Linked DNA regions of Homo sapiens: region 1 is linked to region 2. Evidence: promoter capture Hi-C in 16 types of primary human blood cells and fetal thymus (Javierre and others, 2016). All regions are on one chromosome and are shown on one strand. The core of a region is centred on a gene start or on the middle of the fragment in contact, and the rest is flanking DNA. Distances in the headings are between cores, read along the strand shown.

Region 1 (6,132 bases), core at 2,526-5,025, 320 kb after region 2:
GGAAAGGCTATTTCCCTTGGATACTTACTGTTAGCTGTATTTATTTAAATAACTTGTTTATGCTTTGATTGCCCACCTCTTCCATTAAAATGTAAATTCCATAAAGATGGGAACAGTATCTGTGTTTTTCACCATTGAATCCCCACCCCCTAGCACATAGCACAAATGGAATAAGTAGTTAATGAAGGAGGACATGAAATTTTTAGACATACACAATCAGAAAAAATAAAAGTATGGTATGGTTCTTCATTCTTATGTTTTTATTCACATCTTTCTTTATAATGCTGAGCAACTTTTTTTAGTTTTCTTTACATAGAGCCTACAGCACATTTCTTATTAAAATTATTCCTATTTTATCAGTTTAAAGAATGTAATCTCTCCATCCCTCTCTTTCTCCTCTCTCTTTCTCATTATATTTTAAAGTTTATCAATGCTGGCATATGGAAAATATTTTTATTTGAATATATCCTGCTTGCAGCCAACACACTCAACTCTCATTAAATGCAATAGTTGGGGCCAGGCACTGTGGCTCACACCTGTAATCCCAGAAATTTGAGAGGCAGAGGAGGAAGGATCGCTTGAGCCTGGGAGGCTGAAGTAAGCTATGGTCATGCCACTGCACTCCAGCCTGGGCAACAGAGTAGGATCCTGTTTCTTTTTAAAAAATCCAATAGTTGGGCCGGGTACGGTGGCTCATGCCTGTAATCCCAGCACTTTGGGAGGCCAAGGCGGGTGGATCACGAGGTCAGGAGATCAAGACTATCCTGGCTAACACGGTGAAACCCCGTCTCTACCAAAAATACAAAAAAAAAAAAAAATTAGCCGAGCATGGTGGCGGGAGCCTGTAGTCCCAGCTACTCGGGAGGCTGAGGCAGGAAAATGGCGTGAAACTGGGAGGCGGAGCTTGCAGTGAGCCGAGATCGCGCCACTGCACTCCAGCCTGGGCGACAGAGTGAGACTCCCCCTTAAAAAAAAAAAAATCCAATAGTTGGAGTTTCATTTTGCTTGATTTTTTTTTTTTTTTTTTTTTTTTTGAGAGGGAGTCTTGCTCTGTCGCCCAGGCTGGAGTGCAGAGGTGCGATCTCGGCTCACTGCAACCTCCGCTTCTTGGGTTCAAGCGATTCTCCTGCCTCAGCCTCCTGAGTAGCTGGGACTACAGGCTTCCGCTACCACGCCCAGCTAATTTTTTGTGTTTTTAGTAGAGACGGGGTTTCACCATATTGGCCAGGCTGGTCTCGAACTCCTGATCTTGTGATCTGCCCGCCTCGGCTTCCCAAAGTGCTGGGATTACCGGCGTGAGCCACTGCGCCCAGCCTTGAATTTCTTTTAGTAGGCTAGATATAAAATCGTATCATCTGCAAAAATAAAATTTTGTCTTTTCCTTTCCAAAGTTCTAAATCTCATTTCTGTTTCATCTTTAATTGCTGTCACTAGCTGCAAACTGGGAAAAACATCAAACGATAATGGTGATGGTGGGTGTTCCATAATCTATTCATGATTCTAAGAAACAGACCTCTGGTGTTTCTCATTCTGATTTTCACAACTAGAGCCCAGAAAGATTCTCATCTGCTCATTTCCTTTCACTTTACCTTATTACAGACCACTTAAAATAATCCTAATGTAATAATGTAAGTTTTAACAACACCAAGATGGTTAGTCCTCAAAGAAGTTTCCTTTTCGTCCCTAAACCACAATGCAAGAGCATTCCTTTGCCTCTATTAAATGCACACAAACACACACACACACAGCCGATGCAGCCTGTCCAACCCCTGCTTTCTTCTGATTCATGGGCTCTGGGGGGCATGAAGCAATGCTGATGCCTCAAGGGCCCCGGCACATCCGCAGTCCTCTGGCTAGGGCAGTGCCCGCAGCTCTGAGAACATCAAGAGCACCCGGGCATAAACATGTGCATTCCCATGGCAGCGCTGGCAGTCCTGGCAGTACTACACGAATAAATAGACAGCAACTGTGGGCTTGTCCTAATCAGCATAAGAAGTGAACAGGATATTGAAATGAAATGAAAATAATTACTTCTTCTCCTGCCCCTGAGACCAGGTCTGCTGAATTCTGGCTCTTTCGTTTTGTCCACCCACCCATCCATGCTAGAGGAAATTAATTTGTCTGTTCCCGCTATTTGATTCAAAGCAGGCTGAGACTGCCTTTCTAGAGTCTCAGACCTCCGCCTGCTACACACTTCTCCTTCTTTACAGAGCCAAGCTCTCCACTAGCTGCCTGCAGGTTATGCAAACCATGATCACAAACACTGGGAACCACTCACCAGGCACAATGGTACCAGGACCTGAGTGTGTGAACCTGATGCACCACCTGGGCAGAGGCCCTCCCTAGACAGCCATGTCCTCCCCAGCCCACTGTCCAAGCTTTGGAGCTGTCGGAGCTGTCAGAGCTGCCTGGAGGAAGATTGGTATTGAAGGAAATAAAAATATTGGACCCCAAAACAGACTTCTTTGGCATACTTTGAGATGGCTGTTCAGAGGGCCTGCAAACATAAGTAGCCCTGCAAAGCTGTCTTTTGCAGGTGGGGGGAGATTTGCATCTGCAGAGAATCTGCATTGATGCAGCCAGGCTTTCTCCTAAGGCCTTCCTTTGTCCAGATCTAGGAGAGATTAACTGAGAGTCTGACACATTTAAAGATCTGAAAGAACATTCACCCATCTCTCCACTCTGAGGGCTGCTACCTGTGAGGTTTCACCTGCATAACACAACCATCTTTGCTAGCCAGGGCTTCTCTTCTCCCCCTCCCATAACCTGTTTTGCCAGGATACAAGCCCCCATTCTTTCTATACCTTCAAGAGGGTATATAAACTTCTGAACCCCATTGGGATTTGGGGTAATCACTCTGTGGTTCTTCCCCATGTGCATGTTAATAAATTTGTATGTCATTTCTCTTATTAATCTCCTTCTGTGAGTCGATTTTTCAGCAAAACTTCAGAGGGTAAAGGGGAAGTTTTCCCTTGGCCTCTACAGCATCATCTTCACTGTCCTGGGGATCTAAGACTACTCTCAAGATTTTTCTTGGGTTTTCCCAACTATGGGGATAAGAGAGCCTTTAGGGATAGGAGACCTGGGAGGCAGATGACAACAGCAGTGATTCTTACCTGTCAGCCAGCCTCTGGCACTGGCTCTACAGCCACCACCAATCCCAACCCATGATGGAATAGCTCAGAGCCCTCCCTCCCGCTTCTTAGCCCTCTCCATGACTACAGAGACCCTGGTCTGGCTGGCAAGAGCGGGGAGTGGAGGGGAAGGACAGGAGTCTGCACATGTGTCCATATTGGTGTTCAAGGTTTGGGGGCAAAACAGAAGCTGCCTTTGCTTCCACCAGGTTCCCTCCCTGCTCTTCTAACCCCTCAATGAAAATCTGGGCCAAGCTGTACTCCAGCACCAACCCCAACCTCATCCATCCTAATACTTTTTCCCAAATCTGTTTAATTCCCTGGTTAACTTCATTCTGGCCCCCAGCCCTGCCTGAACAGTGCCTGCCCCTAATGCCCAGCTCAGCAATGCATGCCCTGGCCTTATGCTAATCATTACTAATTGCAGCTAACACTTATAAATGTCCTTATTCACTTATTTATTTAATCTTTACAGCAATCCTCTGAGGTAGATACTATTATTATTCCCATTTTACAGATGAGAAAACTGAGTCTCCAGGAGATTAAGTGACTTGCCCAAGGTCACATAGCTTGCAAACAACAGAATAGATTTGAGCCCAGGGTCTGCACTCCTAACCTCTAGCCTGTACCAACACTAAAAGTTTTAGTCCCTGCCCTCAAGCCAGTGTCAATCCAACCCCCAGACCCTGCAGCTCTGATGGGAGCCTGAGCTCCTTAAATCCAGCTGAGCCCCACCACTCTGCCACCCAAAGTCAGAAGGTAGCATCTGCCCACCTTGCCCCATCAGGGCTCTCCCAACATACTTTTTACCCTCCACCAACAACAGAACCTGAGTCGACGAGAGGTCAACACTATGCAGGATGAGGTGGTCAGCTCATGGAAGCCCGAGGGAGCCCAGGCAGAAAGCATCCCAGCCACGGACAAAAATGAGCTCCAGACACCCAGGCCTGGGCCATGGCACCCAGGCGCACCTTCCAGGGCTATGGAGGAGGCTGCCCCATCAAAAGCATTTCCATGTCTGGAAACACCTGTGAAATCTAAGGCGTGGGCAGTGGAAGAGGGCAGCTGTGAGCAGCAGGCACAGAAGACCTGAAGGTGAGACTCCATGGGAAAGAGGCCTGGCAGAGGCTTTCCCTCCCTCTGCAGGAAGCAGCACTATACCATTCATTCTCCTTCTGGCGGAACTCCTGACATTGACTTCTGTGAGCTCTGTGCCAGCAATTTCAGGCTACTGTTTCTCAGTTTTCTGGGCCAAATTATCTCTCCCACTTCATGTGGCTTTCCCAGGAAACAGGCCTAATTTTATTTTCAAATGGACTCAATATCCCTCAAGTCTATCCTGTCTCCCTCCCAGCCTCCACCCCCATGCTTGCAGATCCCCCTCGAAGCACTTCCAAAGGCATTCATCAATGAAAATTATTATCAGTAATCAAATGTACAATTTGTTAAGAACTTACAGGAACCAAGCTAACTCATTTTGTTCTTACATTCATAAATTCATTGAGTTATTTGAGGTAGGTAGTGTGCCCCCTTTATAGATGAGCAAGTGAAATTCTAAACTCAATTGCCTTGGGCAGGTGATTGGCATAAATGTTTTCAGAGGATCAGCATAAGACAATAGTTGACCTCTTTTATTGAGATCAAGGTAACTTAACTTTTGGAAAGGCTGGGCAGGCAAAAAAAACTTACCCTCTGGCTTCTCCAGCCTTTGAGCCACCAATTTAAGATCACTAAATTTAGAAACTCCCCTCAGCCTGGCTATGGGGTCCATTCTCTTAACTCCTAGGCTATCCCACTTCACTATCAGTCCCTTTGTTCCTAGTCAGCCCACCAGATGTAAATTGAGTTGTGTGGGAAAGAAGTAAAGAGCCAATACTGAAGAACTCTCAGTATAACTCAAAGGAGAATTCCCACCAAATAACTCAGAAGACAGAACCTTGTAATTTTAAAGTTATAGGGTTGGTGGAGGATGGGGGGCTGGGAGGTAGGGGAAAGAACACTACCTAATTCTTTAAATCCCAAGGAGAAGCAAAGCTTGCTTTAAAAATTAAAAAAAAAAAAAAAAAAAAAGCCAAGGAGGCCATCAGAATCATTCATGTCTATTTGATTATCTCATTAAGACAATGCTTTCCAACCAGTCAGTGGACAAGTAGGTAGAAGAAAAAATACCAAGAACAAACATGAAATATGCTCTAGGGAAATGAGTTCTAACCTGGGGCCATGGAATCTTCAGTGGGTTTCACAGGGTCCATGCGTATCTTGGAAACATTCTAATTTTATGTGCACGTGCATTTTTCTGGAAAGACTTTTCCATAGCTGTCATCAAAAGGCCCACCACCTGAGAAAAGAAAAAATAAAACACTAAAACCACTAAATAAATAAATAAATAAATATCTCCTAACAAATATTATTAGGAGAAATAAATATCTCCTAAATCCACAGGATTTTCTTAAACCCAGCTGCTCCTCCTTCCTGAAAATAGTGGCCTGTCCCCCACTGGCTCATGGAGGAGCTGAGGGAGTGAGCAATACCAGGCTTGGCAGATCACCTGGAAGTTCCTACCCTACCTGTGTCCACCGGGTGATGCTGGGCCTCTCTGAAGTTATGAAGGCCAAGTCGGATCCTGCAGCACCCTAGTTAAGCCAAACGGAATATTCAAAAGAGATGAAAGGAATAGCACATGAAATTTCAGCATTTTGATCCTCAAGAGAACCCAGCTGAAGTAGCCTGAGAAATTGCTCAGGGAAGGCTGGAATCGCTCAGGGAAGCAGATGGAGTTTCTGAAGGTTAGGGAGGAAGAGCATATTACGTGGACTGGGCTTGCAGGTGTAACAAGCACAGATCAGAGGCGCAACTGATTAAGGCTACAGAGATGCTGGAAAGGAACAGAGGGACTGGTCCAAAGCCAGGGAGGAAATGAAAGGCAAGACAAAGCCCTATCATGGACCAGCATTGAGAGATGAGGCTTTGGCATTTGTATAGAAGATGCCAGAGGGTT
Region 2 (5,680 bases), core at 76-2,575:
CCAGAAAAATTACTTGTCATCTCAAGGAAACAGAGATGTGGTTTTTGGAATCTTTCAAACATTTGAAACATAAAGTACTTAGCTCTATATAGTTGCCTATTTTGTCCAACAATACCCTTTGCCCTCTCTTGATACCTAGGGTCCTGAATGCAGAAGGTAAGTGAAACTGTAAGACTAAGGGAGCCCTCCAAAATACATCTCTTAAGGCAACAATGTAAAATCTAGTATTCCAAACTGCAGCTACCATCCAAACTAACAAAAAAAATGGGTACTTCTCTATATACTCCCCAATTTTTTTATTTAACAGCATTAAATGTTCTCTTCTTTACTGGAGATGGAAGAAAAAGACTCAGATTTACTTTAGGATCTTGTAGCTGACAATGTATCAATGCCAAACAGGAGAGTTACTGTTAGTCAGAGAGACGGGGACCACAAACACCACCAGGTGCTCATTTCAGTATCAATTTAAACCCACTGTGTGACCTATATCCAAATTTTGCACTCCTCCATAAGTAGCAATACAGACACAGGTTTTAATCTTGAATCATTACAAAAACATTAAACAACTTTAGACAGAAGGAAAAATGCCAAAATGTTAAAAAATAAGTCTAGATACTGAGATTGCCAGTGGGTTTTTTTATTCTTCATAGGTCTGTGTATTTTACCAGCTTCTTAAAATTAACACATATTAGTTTCTAATAAAAGAACACATGTTATTTCTTTTCTTGAGATGGTATCTTGCTCTGTCACCCAGGCTGGAGTGTAGTGGCACGATTTTGGCTCACTGCAGCCTCTGCCTCCCAGGTTCAAACAATTCTCACGCCTCAGCCTCCTAAGTAGCTAGGACTACAGGCGTACACCACCACGCCTGGCTAATTTTTGTATTTTTAGTAGAGATGGGGTTTCACCATGTTGGCCAGGCTGGTCTTGAACTCCTGACCTCAAATGATCCACCCAACTCGGCCTCCCAAAATGCTAGGATTACAGGTGTGAGCCACCGACGCCTGGCCAACAAATGTTATTTCTAAAAGATGAAGAAGCAAGAGAAGAACATAGACACGAATCTGCAAATCTACTTAGACCGAACATATCAAACGAGGTTTGGCTAGAGCTTCTCAGTACACTAATTGCTCTGCTCAACCTACAAGAAGCCAGGTACACTGGATGTCAACATGCCTACCTCATGGTATCTTCTACCTATCCAGAGCCCTTAACAAAACAAGTCTCTATCTGAGACAGGAGGGAAAACTTTATCTCTGTTAGCCAGCTCTCATTCCAAAGGGGTCTGATATTTAAAACTGTCTTTCTCCCAAATATTTTAACAGCATGTGAGAACTTTTGGCTGATGAATACAAGATACGCTCATTCATTCTCTTCATTGCTATGAAATGAGTTTTTCCACAACCTCCTGCAGAACCTCAACACATCACTAGGTGGCAACATCCCTACACCATATCGGTTTAGAAACCACGGTTAGGAGGAGCAGCAAAACACGCGGCATCCCAGTATGATTCAGAAGTAAAGTAAGTAAATATTTTCAGGGCAAATAAAAAACAGTCAAGTCTGATGCAATTAAAAGAAGTCCTCTCTACAAGAATAAATGTTTGTCCCCACTCTCCTCCCTCATGGAAACAGTACAGGCAAGCTGCCGGAGTGAACGCTGAGTGAGGGAAAGGAACGCACCATCGTTATCAAACTCGATCCGCGTGCATGGCCCCCGGGCGGTGATGTCGCAGCTGTACAGCCCTCCCGTTCTGTTGGCTCTCTGCAGTGGAAGCGCTTCTGCCCGCGGGGCCCCCACGAGCAACCTGTTGATGAAACAGAGACAATTTGGAGATTTGAATTTAATATACGTTTAACAGTTAAATCAGTCAGAACTAGGAGATAGTGGGATTATTCTTTGTCTAGGAGTCCACTAATTCTTCAACAGCTTAGGCAGTGAGTGAGAACAAATGTAGAGTCCTATGGCTGGTTCATGCAAAACGCACAAACACAACTAAACAGGGGAAGCCAAAGAGGGGATACCAAAACGAGGAAAATAGGCCTGTCTCTCATAGTATCAGCATTTCTTGCTGGGTATGATCTGGTGTTTAAAAGACACCCTCTTCAAAGAATACAACCTCTAAGCCCCTATGATGCCAGGGATATCATATGAAACTCAAGAGAAGAAACCAAATACTTGTGACAATGGAAGGAAAAAATGGCCACACTAAATGTAATAAGCAATAATATGTCAGTTTCTAACACTGTGCCTTCCTGAGGTAGTTTTCAAGGGTAATTCTGACTATATCTTAGATTTTCAGTTTATATACTAATTGAGAGAACCTAATGGTAAGTAAGATACAACTCGACTGAATTATTCACTTGCAGCCTTGGCCTCTTTCCAATTCTTTTTTTTTTTTCCCTCCAGTTTTATTAGGGTAGAATGGACAAATAAAAAGCAGATATATTTGAGGTGTACAAGTTGATGTTTGTTCTTCCAAGTCAGTTCTTACTTCCTTGCACTTTTGTCACATTACAAGAGTTCGTCCTCTCTCATCCTATCAGTCTCCCACAAAGGATTCAGGGACAACTGGTGTAGCTCCACTTATGTACTAGGCACTGTAATATTCCTTCTTCTCCCCAGCCGAGTGTTTTTATCTCCTATAAGGAGGCCCCCAGTCCAAATCCACAGTCCTTAAAATTTCACCATCTCACAGCTTGACAGGCTCTTTAGAGATCCAATGACCTTGTTGCTAGGTCTCTTTTGCTAACACCTTTACTCACCATCAGGTTTACAATCTTTGAGGCCTGGCTGACTCATGGAACAACTAGGACAAGAAACAAAGACAAAGAACACACACCTGACTGGACAGAGATAAACCAAGAGCTGAGAGTTTTGGAAACAAGGCTGGAGCTGAGGAAAAGGACTGGGAACACGAACCTGTACAAACAACAAATTCTTACAACAGAAAACAAGCCACTCCTGGCCATCAAGAAACCCACAAATCTCAGAAGCAAAAGCAAAACAAATGAAAATACAAACCAAATAGTCTCTATTACCTTCATGCCTGTTGGGTCCCAATAAAGGAATCATTCCAATAAAGGATTCAACATATTTTTTTTAAACCAATATCATGCAGCAGGTGCCACCGGAGGCAAGTGTACCTGGAAAGCAGGGAGGGGGGCCAGATGATGCCCAGACAGAGAAGGAGGGGTGGCTCATGGATAACACATAGCCCCAGCACTGTCCTTCCTCCCAGATCCCTGGACAGTCACAGTCAGCCCCCACCTCCAAACCCACCCTACATTTGAAGGAACAAAACAGCACACACCAAGGTACAGAACTGACACACAGACTTTTAAATTAGGAACTGGAGCAGTGTCCTTGGTGCCTGAACCTTCTTGACAGAGGACAGAGGCAAGGCCGGGGCCACAAGGGTCCCCACAGGTCTGCTCCACTCCTATTCCAGTGATGTCCCCGATCCCAGGAATGCCAACAAACAAGTACCTGGGAGGTGAACTGCCTAGACTATAAGGTGAATGTGTTAAATTACTGTACTTGGCAGATGTCAGAGGTGGAGTCATGTGGAGGGTGCTGGAAGGGATAAGTGGGGTGCCAGGATCAGAGGCCCAGAACCCCAGGACTTTCACACTGGAAGCCCCTGAGAGAGACCAGTCCTCCAGTTTTACAGATAAAGAAACAGAGGCCTTGAGGAGCTTAATTACTCATCCCCCAAGATCTCACAGCTAGTGGGTGGCCATGACAAAAATTATCTTGGTGCAATGTTGTCTCCATTTCTTTACAAAGCTGCTTAGGAAGTAAAACCCAGGATTTCAAGTTTACAACCTAGTTGAAAGGGCAAAACTTACACAAATAAAACATCACAACCAAAACTGTTCTGTATGCTGATAAAAGTTAAGATAATAGAGCCAAGTAGAGGGGAAGGAAGAAAAGCATTATTGCAGTTGGGTGGAGTGAAGGCTGGGTAAGAGATTTCCTGTAAAGGTAACCACCAGCAAAGAGAAGCCTAGAAAAAGCAGCACAGGAGTCCCATTGTCTTAACTGTGTGTCTTCCTAACCACTTCCTCTTCTCACCCACACCCAAGGTGGCTACTAAGTTACCTAAGGCAGGCACAGGGCTTATTTCCTGTTTATCCCATTCCCACATTCGTTCACCTATTCACTCAACAAACGCTGATTAAGAGCCTCCTAGGATGAATAAGGAATTGCCCCCACTCCTCAATCTCTGGCCTGGGGAAGCCTGATCCGTGAACAGGTCATGAGGTCATGAAACCACAGGGAGCTAGAGGCAATGAGAGGATGGTACAGAGTGCTGTGGGCACCAGCACCTGCTGGAGAGGAAGGGAGGATGTCACTAAGAGATGACAGCGGGACTGGAGGTGGCCAGGTAAGGAACACAGCATATGCAAAGGCTGCAAGGGAAGGAGCCAGAGAAAAGGGAGAAGAGGGACACAATGGGTGACAAGAAGGGGTCGAGGATCAGCAGCCTGGTCAGCAGCGCTAAAGGACGAAGGGTCAGAGACCCTCTGAACCCCAGGCTTCTGTAGCCTGCTGTGTCCTGCAGGGTACAGCTGCTTTTGGGTGTCCTGTGGTTTAAAAAGCTGTGGAGGTTGTCCCATTTACATGCCCAGTCCCTCAGAGTGGGTTGGCTTCCCTCAGCCTCTATCTGCCACTTGTTCTCCACTCTCTGTAACTAATACGTGTGGGACAAAGAATAGGCATTTAACTCGAATTTGTTGGCTGGTTACAGGGGCTGTGGTGACAAAATTTCACAAATGCCCACACCAAGCTCTTGCAGAAGAGGTCCTCGTGTCTTACATGCGGCGGCTACTGCAGATGACAGCAGACCACATGGCAGGATGGGGGCAGCAGGCTGGTTTGGGGAAAAAGGACAACAGATTCGAAAAGAGACCTGCAAACGACAAGAGAAATGTACCCACAGAGAATAACGTTAGCTGTTGCACCGCCTCTGGGCGAGCTCAGCCTGCACATGGTCCTGGCACTGTCCTTCCTCCACCTCAGGTGGTCCCACAGGGGATGGAGGAAGCAGGAGTGTTCCACCGCCCCTTGCAAATCCCCTGGGCAGCCGTGGGAGGAAGAGCTGACACCCAGCAGCAGAGGGCGCCCCTGCTCCAGTTGCGCCCGGTCTCCTGGGACCCACCGCGATAAGGTGGCAGAACCCATCACCGAAAGGTAAGGTAAAGCTACACCTTGATGAGAGAACACAGTAACCCCAACCACATTCAGCAACTGGAGGCGCCTTCATCCTCAAGGTAAAGCTGCCCTCCCTGGTTTGGGAAACAAGCAAAGGCTCTTAATTCGCCTGGAACCAGCCTTAAAGGCAGGAGATCACAGCCCATTAGCTGAGGCTGTGCCTAGCAGGAACAATAAATAAGGTAAATAGAGCTGTGTCCAAACAATGACAGCAGAGAACAACCTATCTACTTCCTAATCTAGGTCATTTAGGGTCTGGGTGCTGGTCTAAGCTGTTCAGGACATGGTTGGCTCCTGAGCTAGCAGAGTGGGTACAGGTCCAGGAGGGACAGTCTACACCTAGGAGGACCCTCAGCCCACACAAAATCCAATTTATGCTCAAATTCCAGCTTTCTTCCCTTTCCCTCCAAGGCCCTTAAATGCCAAAAACTGGGCCCAGGCCACCCAGATGGTTCAGTGTGA

Evidence for each region. Contacts are between HindIII fragments. The CHiCAGO score rates a contact against its expected background, and 5 or more counts as called.
Region 1: a fragment that was not itself captured here is called in contact with the fragment with the promoter of ITGA6-AS1 in region 2 in 2 of 17 cell types (megakaryocytes and M0 macrophages); the score reaches 7.8 in megakaryocytes.

Annotation. Positions count from the first base shown.
Region 1 is chr2:172,144,191-172,150,322 of GRCh38, reverse strand. It overlaps LOC105373741 (a long non-coding RNA gene), which reads right to left. Exons shown (of 3, transcript XR_923580.2): 2 at 5,347-5,472. Among named protein-coding and RNA genes, the nearest start is that of DLX2-DT, 44 kb to the right of the region's middle. The HindIII fragment of the contact is 2,790 bases long and covers 2,381-5,170 here.
Region 2 is chr2:172,461,667-172,467,346 of GRCh38, reverse strand. It overlaps ITGA6-AS1 (ITGA6 and PDK1 antisense RNA 1), which reads left to right and starts at 1,325. Exons shown (of 2, transcript NR_157573.1): 1 at 1,325-1,523; 2 at 2,773-3,085. ITGA6 (integrin subunit alpha 6) reads right to left here. Exons shown (of 26, transcript NM_000210.4): 2 at 1,684-1,808. It overlaps PDK1-AS1 (PDK1 and ITGA6 antisense RNA 1), which reads left to right. Exons shown (of 4, transcript NR_199657.1): 4 at 2,773-3,081. RefSeq lists an enhancer at 915-1,084. The HindIII fragment of the contact is 13,641 bases long and covers 1-5,680 here.